Linked DNA regions of Homo sapiens: regions 2 and 3 are each linked to region 1. The links are contacts of gene promoters, found by promoter capture Hi-C in human tissues and cell types (Jung and others, 2019). All regions are on one chromosome and are shown on one strand. The core of a region is centred on a gene start or on the middle of the fragment in contact, and the rest is flanking DNA. Distances in the headings are between cores, read along the strand shown.

Region 1 (2,796 bases), core at 159-2,658:
AAAAACAAAACAAAACAAAACAAAAAAAATAAAAACAGGTTGGGCGCGGTGGCTCACGCCTGTAATCCCAGCACTTTGGGAGGCTGAGCCGGGCGGATCACCTGCATTTAGGAGTTTGAGACCAGCCTGGCCAACATGGTGAAACCCCATCTCTACAAAAAACACAAAAAATCAGCTGGGTGCAGTGGTGTGCCCCTGTAATCCCAGCTACTTGGAAGGCTGAGGCAGGAGACTCACTTGAACCCAGGAGGCGGAGGTCATAGAGGAGCCAAGATCACGCCATTGCACTCCAGCCTGGGCAACGAGCAAAACTCCGCCTCAAAAAAAAAAAATTAAAAAACAGAGCTTGGATTGCTTCTTAGTCTTCTGGCTAAGAATCAAGTGTAAAACAGCTTGGCCAGTGTGCCGGGGTAGGGTCCTGGGAGCCCCTGGCTGTGTCAAGAGACCCCCTTTGGGCCAGGTGCGGTGGCTCATGCCTGTAATCCCAGCACTTTGGGAGGCCAAGGCAGGCGGATCACTTGACGTCAGGAGTTCAAGACTAGCCTGGCCAACATGGTGAAACTCTGTCTCTACCAAAAATACAAAAATTAGCCCGGTGTGGTGGTGCATGCCTGTAGTCCCAGCTACTCAGGAGGCTGAGGCAGGAGAATCGTTTGAACCCGGGAGGTGGAGGTTCCAGTGAGCCAAGATGGTGCCACTGCACTCCAGCCTGGGCAACAAGAGTGAAACTCCGTCTCAAAAAAAGAAAAAAAAATAGGAGACCCCCTTTTACTTTCCAGACTGTGGGAGGGAGGAAGAGTGTTGTCCCAGGCAGTAACTAGGGGCTAGATTATTAACAAACTAGTATTTTAGTGCCTGCTACACCTGAACAGTGCTTCTGGCTGAATGTTAGCCCTGGGAATCTGAAGATCAGAGAGGTGGGGCATCCTACCTGAGGATGCACAGCCTGGATCCTCATTTTGCCCTGATTTATCCAGATCTGCTGTCCTCCCTGCACCCTACAGAGCAGGGCAATCACAGCAGGGGGCCCCTTCAGTGTCCTCAGACAGCTGCTGTGATTTGAATAACCAGGCAGGCTGCTGGATGTCCCCTGGTGACTGATTTGCCTGGCAAACAGACCCTCAACCCCTGGGAGACAGTCCCCCTGGGGCCTTGTTTCTTCTTCCTATCCTCAAAAGCTCCCCAGGCCCATCTCCCCTTGCCTGGCTCTGCTTGGTGGTCCTAGTGCTTGTCCACCCCTGGAGGCTGGATGGTTCCCTCCAAAACCTGGGAGAAGATGGGCAGGTCCCCAGGCAGGGGTAACCTGAGCCAGCTTAGTCCACTCCCAGGGCCAGCCAGGAAATTTGCATGAAGAGAATGAGGTTCCTCAGAGGCTTCCCCTCCTTTCCCACCAGGGATAGTCATCCTGGGGCTGAGGTCTGACAGCAGGTGGAAGCAGCCCCTGTGTGTGGAGAGCCTTCCGGAGGGCATGCCCCGCGCCTTCCTGGTCAGGAGTCGGCGTCCACAGCCCCCCAACTGGGGCCATCTGCCTGACCAGCTCCGGGGAGATGCCTATATCCCAGGTGGGCCCCTCACTGTGCCTGGAGGTAAGGGGCAGGAGAGACGCAGTGTCACCATCTGGCTTTTCTCCTCAGACTGCAGCAGCCTGGGGGGGCCACCGGCACAACAGTCGTCCAGTGTCAGGGATCCGTGGACAGCGGTGAGTGTGTAACTGGCTAGCAAAGCCAGCTGTTTCGCTCCTGCCTGCTCTCAGCCTTAATGAAGCTGACAGCCCCTTGCTCCCCCGACCCATCTGCACACGCCCTCCAGCCTCGGGACCTGTCCGCCCCTACTTCTCTGTGTTGGGAATGCCTCTCCTTTCCTAGTAGTGAGCTCTCTACTGTTAGGTCTCACCCCAGGCACCAGGGCCGGCAGCCACAGGGATCTCTTCCAGCGGGGCACAAGATTCATCCCCACATGTGGATGATCCGCTTTATGTCAGAACATGGGACAAGGCAACAGGAGTGCGATGGGAGATAAGGGCTTTTTCAGCTGTGCATGCATTGGAGGAAGGAAAGCGCCAGCCGGAATGTAATATATTCATGAAAGCAAGGCACTGTTCTAGGCATGGGCTGTTATATTCAGCGGGAATAAGACAAAAATCCACAATTTTATGGAGCTTATATTCTGGTTGGGGCTGCATGTATAGACAATAAAATTAGTCAGCCTGTAATTCCAGCACTTTGGGAGGCCGAGGCGGGTGAATCACTTGAGGTCATGAGTTCGAGACCAGGCTGGCCAACATGTTGAAACCTTGTCTCTACTAAAATTACAAACATTAGCCAGACATGGTGGCACGTGCCTGTAATCCCAGCTCCTCAGGAGGCTGAGGCAGGAGAATCAGTTGAACCTAGGAGGCAGGGCAGAGGATGCAGTGAGCCGAGTCTGCGCCACTGCACTCCAGCCTGGGAAACAGATCTAGACTCCATCCCCCCTCAAAAAAAACAATAAAATTAGAAAAATAGACCGGGCATAGTGGCTCATGCCTGTAATCCCAGCACTTTGTGAGGCCAAGGTGGGTGGATTGCTTGAGGTCAGGAATTCAAGACCAGCCTGGCCAACATGGTGAAACCCCATCTCTACAAAAAATAAAAAAATTAACTGGGCATGTGGCGCATGCCTACAATCGTGTAATCGTGGGGAGGCTGAGGCACTAGAATCGCTTGAACCCGGGAGGCGGAGGTTGCAGTGACCTGACATCATACCACTTCACTCCTGCCTGGGCGACAGAGCAAGACTCTGTCTTTAAAAAAAAAA
Region 2 (2,796 bases), core at 218-2,717, 1.4 Mb before region 1:
GTTACAGTAGCTGCAGTCTCTCCAACAGGTACAAGACAGCATCCAGCTGCTTGTCCAAGGAGCACATCCCAATGCAGTTCCTGACCAGATGGGGCTCTGCCACTCTTTCCAGCTGGGTGACCTGGAGTATGTTAAAAAGTTCCAGAAGGAAGGACTCACTCCTGCCTGGAAAGGACCTCATACTGTCATCCTCACCACGCCAACAGCTCTGAAAGTAGACAGCATTCCGGCTGGATTCATCACTCTCGCATCAAGAAGACCAACAAAGCCCAGCAAGAAACATGGGTCCCCAAGCCTGGGACAAGCCCCTTAAAACTGCGCCTAAGTTGAGTGAAGCCATTAGATTAATTCTTTATCTCTTTTGTTTCCACCTGTCATGCCCTCTGCTCCTTCCTACTCTTTTCTCCTTACTTCTTTCACGACAGGACTGTGTTTGCAAACACCACCTGGAAGGCAGGAACCTCTGAGGAAGTCTTTTTTGCAGTGATTTATGTGCTCTGTTCCCAGAGCCTGCCCATACTCTCGAAGAGCAACACAATCTGCCGATCATAGGAGCAGGGAACGTTGACCTTGCTGCAGGGTTTGGACACTCCGGAAGCCAGACAGGATGTGGGAGCTCCAAAGGTGCAGAAAAAGGACTCCAGAATGTTGACTTTTACCTCTGTCCTCGAAATCACCCTAACTCTAGTTGTTGAGATTCTTACCAGTTTTTCTGCCCTGACTGGACATGTGTAACTTTGGCCACCTACTCTGGGGGATCAACCCGATCTTCAACCCTTTCCATAGCTTGTGCTTCCTGTCCTAAACTGTGGACTAAGAGAAATTGTAATCCCCTTACTATAACTGTTCATAATCCTAATTTAGCTCAATGGAATTATGGCATGTCTTGGGATTAAGGCTTTATATCCCAGGATTTGATGTTGGAACTATGTTCACCATCCAAAAAAAAAAAAATCCTGGTCCCATGGAGCCCTCCTAAGCCAATCGGGCCTTTAACTGATTTAGGTGACCCTGTGTTCCAAAAATACCCAGACAGTGTCAACTTAACTGTCCCGCCGCCTTTCCTGGTTCCTAAACCTCAGCTGCAACAACAACACCTCCAACCCAGCCTGATGTCCATTCTGGGCAGGGTACATCACCTCCTCAATCTCACCCAGCCTAAACTAGCCTGAGATTGTTGGTTGTGCCTAAAGGCCAAACCCCCTTATTATGTTGGATTAGGAGTAGAAGCCATGCTTAATATTGACTCTCTTTCTTGTCATACATGCCCCTGTGCCCTCACACTAGGAGACGTGTCCGGGAATGCTTCTTGTCTAATTAGCACTGGATATAATTTATCTGCTTCTCCCTTTCAGGCTACCTGTTATCAGTCTTTACTTACTTCCTTAAGCACCTCAGTCTCCTACCAGGCACCTAACAATACCTGGTTAGCCTGCACTTCAGGTCTCACTCGCTGCATCAATGGGACTGAACCAGGACCTCTCTTGTGTGTGTTGGTTCATGTGCTCCCCCAGGTCTACGTATACAGTGGGACAGAAGGACAACTTCTCATCACTCCCCCTGAATTGCATACCAGGTTTTGCCGAGCCGCCCTACTCCTTGTACCCCTCCTGGCCGGCCTAAGCACAGCTGGGTTGGTAGCCATCAGCATGGCTGCCTTCATTCAGGGAGAAACTGGACTAATGTCCCTATCTCAACAAGTAGATGCTGATTTAAGCCATCTCCAATCAACCATAGATATACTCCATACCCAAGTAGAGTCTCTAGCTAAAGTAGCTCTTCAAAACCGCTGAGGCTTATATCTGCTATTTGTCTCTCAAGGAGGGTTATGCACAGCTCTGGGAGAGAGTTGTTGCTTCTGTGCCAGTCAGTCTGGGGTCATAAAAGATACTCTCCAAAAAGTTCAAGAGAATCTAGATAGACACCAGCAGGAGCGGGAAAATAACACCCCCCTGGTACCAAAGCATGTTTAACTGGAATCCATGGCTAACTACTCTAATCACTGGGTTAGCTGGACCCCTCCTCCTCCTCCTATTGTTAGGCTTAGTCTTCGAGCCTTGTATATTAAATTGGTTTCTTAACTTTGTAAAGCAATGCACAGCTTCTGTCAAGCTTATGTATCTTAAAGCCCAATATAACCCCCTTGTTAAAACTGAGTAATCAATGATTTGATTCCCCCAAAACACAAGTGGGAAATGTGATATCCTACCTTGTTTTAACCTGAAATTGATTCTCCCTTAGCTGAGAGAGCGGGACAGACTCCATTTTGGCTCCTTCACTTGCAGCCCCTTACCCACCCCCCTTCCTCAAGGACTTAACTTGTGCAAGCTGACTCCCAGCACATCAAAGAATGCAATTACTGATAAGATACTGTGGCAAGCTATATCCACAGTTCCCAGGAATTCACCTGGTTGATAGTACCCAAAGCCCCCGTGTCTGTGTCTGTTGATGGTACCTAAAGCACCTGTGTCTATCACCCTTTGATAGATTTAAAGCCCTTGCATCTGGAACTATTTTTCTTTCCTGTAACCATTTGTCCTTTTAACTTTTTTGCCTGTTTTACTTCTGTAAAATTGCTTCAGCTAGGCTCCCCCTCCCCTTTCTAAACCAAAGTATAAAAGAAAATCTAGCCCCTTCTTTAGGGCTGAGAGAATTTTGAGCACTAGCCATCTCTCGGTCACCAGCAATAAAAGGACTCCTGAATTAGTCTCAGAGTGTGGCGTTTCTCTACAACTCACTCGGTTACAACAGCTGGTGTTTCAGCTGATATAAGCTGGTCTTGGCTAGATAGTGAAC
Region 3 (2,796 bases), core at 149-2,648, 1.3 Mb after region 1:
TACACTCAAACTGTATCCCAATCTGACAATTTCTCATTGCCTCTTCCAGTGATGACCCTAATTCAAACCACCATCATCATAAGACCATTGGTCTCCAAAATAGTTTATACATAAATGAGCCTGTCATTGACATGTAGAGACCTGGGTCAACAGTACAGATGGAGGTCCCCAGCCAGTCCCCTTCTGTTCCCACTGCCATCCTTGTCCCACATCGTAAGAGGTCTTCTATTCCCACATGTGGACACTCCAGCTTGCATATCTAAGCTCTGTCTAGCCTTACCAAATTGCTCTCATTTGGCCACATTTTGTGGATAGGCAGCACATTCCACCTTTGGAAGACAGATCAAGGGAAGGGTCTTTGGACACAGAGGAGATACAGGCTCTGGAAGCAGGCTGGAGTCCATTTGAACAGGAAATCCTGGGGATTTGGATACCCAGAGCATGGTCTGAAAGAAGGTTGTGAGATCTTTGCAGGCATGTTTCTGCCTATGGACTTTCACCAGGAAGGAAACTGCTTGACTAGAGGAGGGCCAAAGTGTGGCCTTTTGTATGTTTAATAATATTAAAATGTTAAATATATTATTTTGACCAATTGAGAAATAATAATAATAATAAAATAGGCCGGGTGCGATGGCTCATGCCTGTAACCCCAGCACTTGGGGAGGCCGAGGCAGGTGGATCACAAGTTCAGGAGATGAAGACCATCCTGGCCAACATGGTGAAACCCCATCCCTACTAAAAATACAAAAATTAGCTGGGCGTGGTGGCAGGTGCCTGTAATCCCAGCTCCTCAGGAGGCTGAGGCAAGAGAATCGCTTGAACCCGGGAGGCGGAGGTTGCAGTGAGCGCCGAGATTGCCTCAATAAAAGATACCACAGACCCCGCCCATGGCAGGAGATGGGGGTGAAGGAACAGTAAGACCAGGAGACAGTCAGATACACATCGGATCAGTGGTATCCTCACAGTAACAGAAACGGTCACCCCCAATGTCAGCCACAGTCTCTTTCATCCACAATCACTTTCACATTCAGCTACCCACAATCACGGGACGTGATTTAAAATACAGAAGCTCCCTGCACTGACAAAATCCGCCGCTCCTTTCGTCGGCAAGCATAAAGGTGTGCAGCAACAGTCACACACGAACCACCACACCCAAGCATTCAACCAGTCAGCCCCGCGCGCAGCCTGGCCGCTTTCCCCAACACAGCAGCTCAAGGTCACTGGAGAGCCTACGACCGCACACAGCCCTCTCCGGTACCTGCCCCCGTGGCGCAGGCGCGCAGTGGAGGGGGCCGCGGGGTTCTCTGGGAGATGTAGTTCAACGATGACGGCCGTGGCGCAAAGCGTTCTGGGGCTCGTGGTTCGCGGGGTCCATGGGGAACGCGGTGTCGCTGGTTCAGATCTCGCAGAGCTCAGAGTCCTGCATGCCTCAGTCCTCGCCTCGCTCCTCCTCGCGGAGGATTCTGGGAGGTGACGTCGCGGGTCTCGGTCGCGGGGCCCGTTTGCAGAGCCCGCGGCGCCGGGAGGTGAGTGGGGCCGGGCCCCGGGCGGGAGCGGGAAGTCAAGGGCGGGCTCCGGGTGGCCCGGCCGCGCCAGGGATGGGAACCCGGCAGGAGTCGCTGGGGAGGCCGTGTGTGTTTCACTGTATTACCAACTATGTGACAGGCTGCGGGTGTGACAGAATGTGATCTTGTGTCACTGTGTGTGTGTGTTTGTGCGCGTGCGCCCGCTTGTGTGTGACTGTAACCATCTGTGTCTGGGGGTGAAACTGTGAATATGTGTGTTTGTGTGTGACTGTCTCTGCAGGTGTAGCTGTGTATGTGTTTATGAGAGACTGGGGTGTGACATTGTGTGTTTGTGTAAATGCATGTGTGTGGTTATGTGACCACCTGTTTCTGCGGATACAATTGCGTTTGAATGTGTGTGACAGCAAGTGTGATTGTGCGACTATGACCATCTGTCTCCGCAGGTATAGTTTTGTATCAGTAATTGTGACAAGATGTGTGACTTCTGTGGTATGCTACTTTGTGTGTGATTGTGTGTGATTGTTTATCTCTGTTGGTGTAGTTGTATGTTACCATCTATCTTTGTGCTTATGTGGCTGTGTATTGTGTGAGATTATGGGTGTGTTTGTGTGACTCTATACATTTGTGATTGGGTGAGAATTTGTGTGTATATATGAGATTGTGGGATTGATGTATGAAGCACAGAAATATTAGAATTACCCAAGTTCACACAGTTAACAAGTGACAGCACCAGAACTCAAACCCAAGCAGTTTAGCTCTAGAGGTCTCGCTTTTTTTTTTTTTTTTCTCTTGAGATGGAGTCTCACTCTATTGCCCAGGCTGGAGTGCAATGATGCGATCTCGGCTCACTGCAACCTCCGCCTCCCAGGTTCAAGTGATTCTCCTGCCTCAGCCTCCCAAGTAGCTGGGATTACAGGCGCGCACCACCACGCCCAGCTAGTTTTTGTATTTTTAGTAGAGACGAGGTTTCACCATGTTTGGCCAGGCTGGTCTCCAACTCCTGACCTCATGATCCGCCCACCAGAGCCTCCCACAGTGCTGGGATTACAGGCGTGAGGCGCTGCGCCCTGCTGCAGTTTTTATGGACAATTTCAAGCTGCACTACACTAAGGAAATAACTGCTAGGGACTGAGTTGCCTAGTGCAAAGTAGTCCAGAATTAGGGGGTGAAATTAGGGGGTGATGTATACTGAATTCTAGGTCAACCACAGTTGTCCCTTTCTTTTCTTTTCTTTTCTTTTCTTTTTTTTTTTTTTTTTTTTTTTGAGACA

Evidence for each region. The method cuts DNA at HindIII sites, captures the fragments that hold promoters and counts their contacts. A contact is called where the count stands out against the background at its distance.
Region 2: a fragment that was not itself captured here is called in contact with the fragment with the promoter of OVOL3 in region 1 in 1 of the 25 tissues and cell types used here (bladder).
Region 3: a contact is called between the fragment with the promoter of ZNF527 here and the fragment with the promoter of OVOL3 in region 1, in 1 of the 25 tissues and cell types used here (dorsolateral prefrontal cortex).

What each region holds. Positions count from the first base shown.
Region 1 is chr19:36,109,735-36,112,530 of GRCh38, forward strand. It overlaps OVOL3 (ovo like zinc finger 3), which reads left to right and starts at 1,409. Exons shown (of 4, transcript NM_001302757.2): 1 at 1,409-1,562; 2 at 1,635-1,699. The coding sequence starts at 1,469. It also overlaps a transcript of WDR62 not described here. RefSeq lists enhancers at 1,008-1,638, 1,639-2,268. The HindIII fragment of the contact is 22,945 bases long and covers 1-2,796 here.
Region 2 is chr19:34,725,038-34,727,833 of GRCh38, forward strand. No RefSeq gene overlaps it. Among named protein-coding and RNA genes, the nearest start is that of ZNF181, 7.8 kb to the right of the region's middle. The HindIII fragment of the contact is 8,763 bases long and covers 1-2,796 here.
Region 3 is chr19:37,369,701-37,372,496 of GRCh38, forward strand. ZNF527 (zinc finger protein 527) reads left to right here and starts at 1,399. Exons shown (of 5, transcript NM_032453.2): 1 at 1,399-1,526. RefSeq lists enhancers at 769-908, 929-978, 1,149-1,458 and a silencer at 1,489-1,798. The HindIII fragment of the contact is 11,070 bases long and covers 1-2,796 here.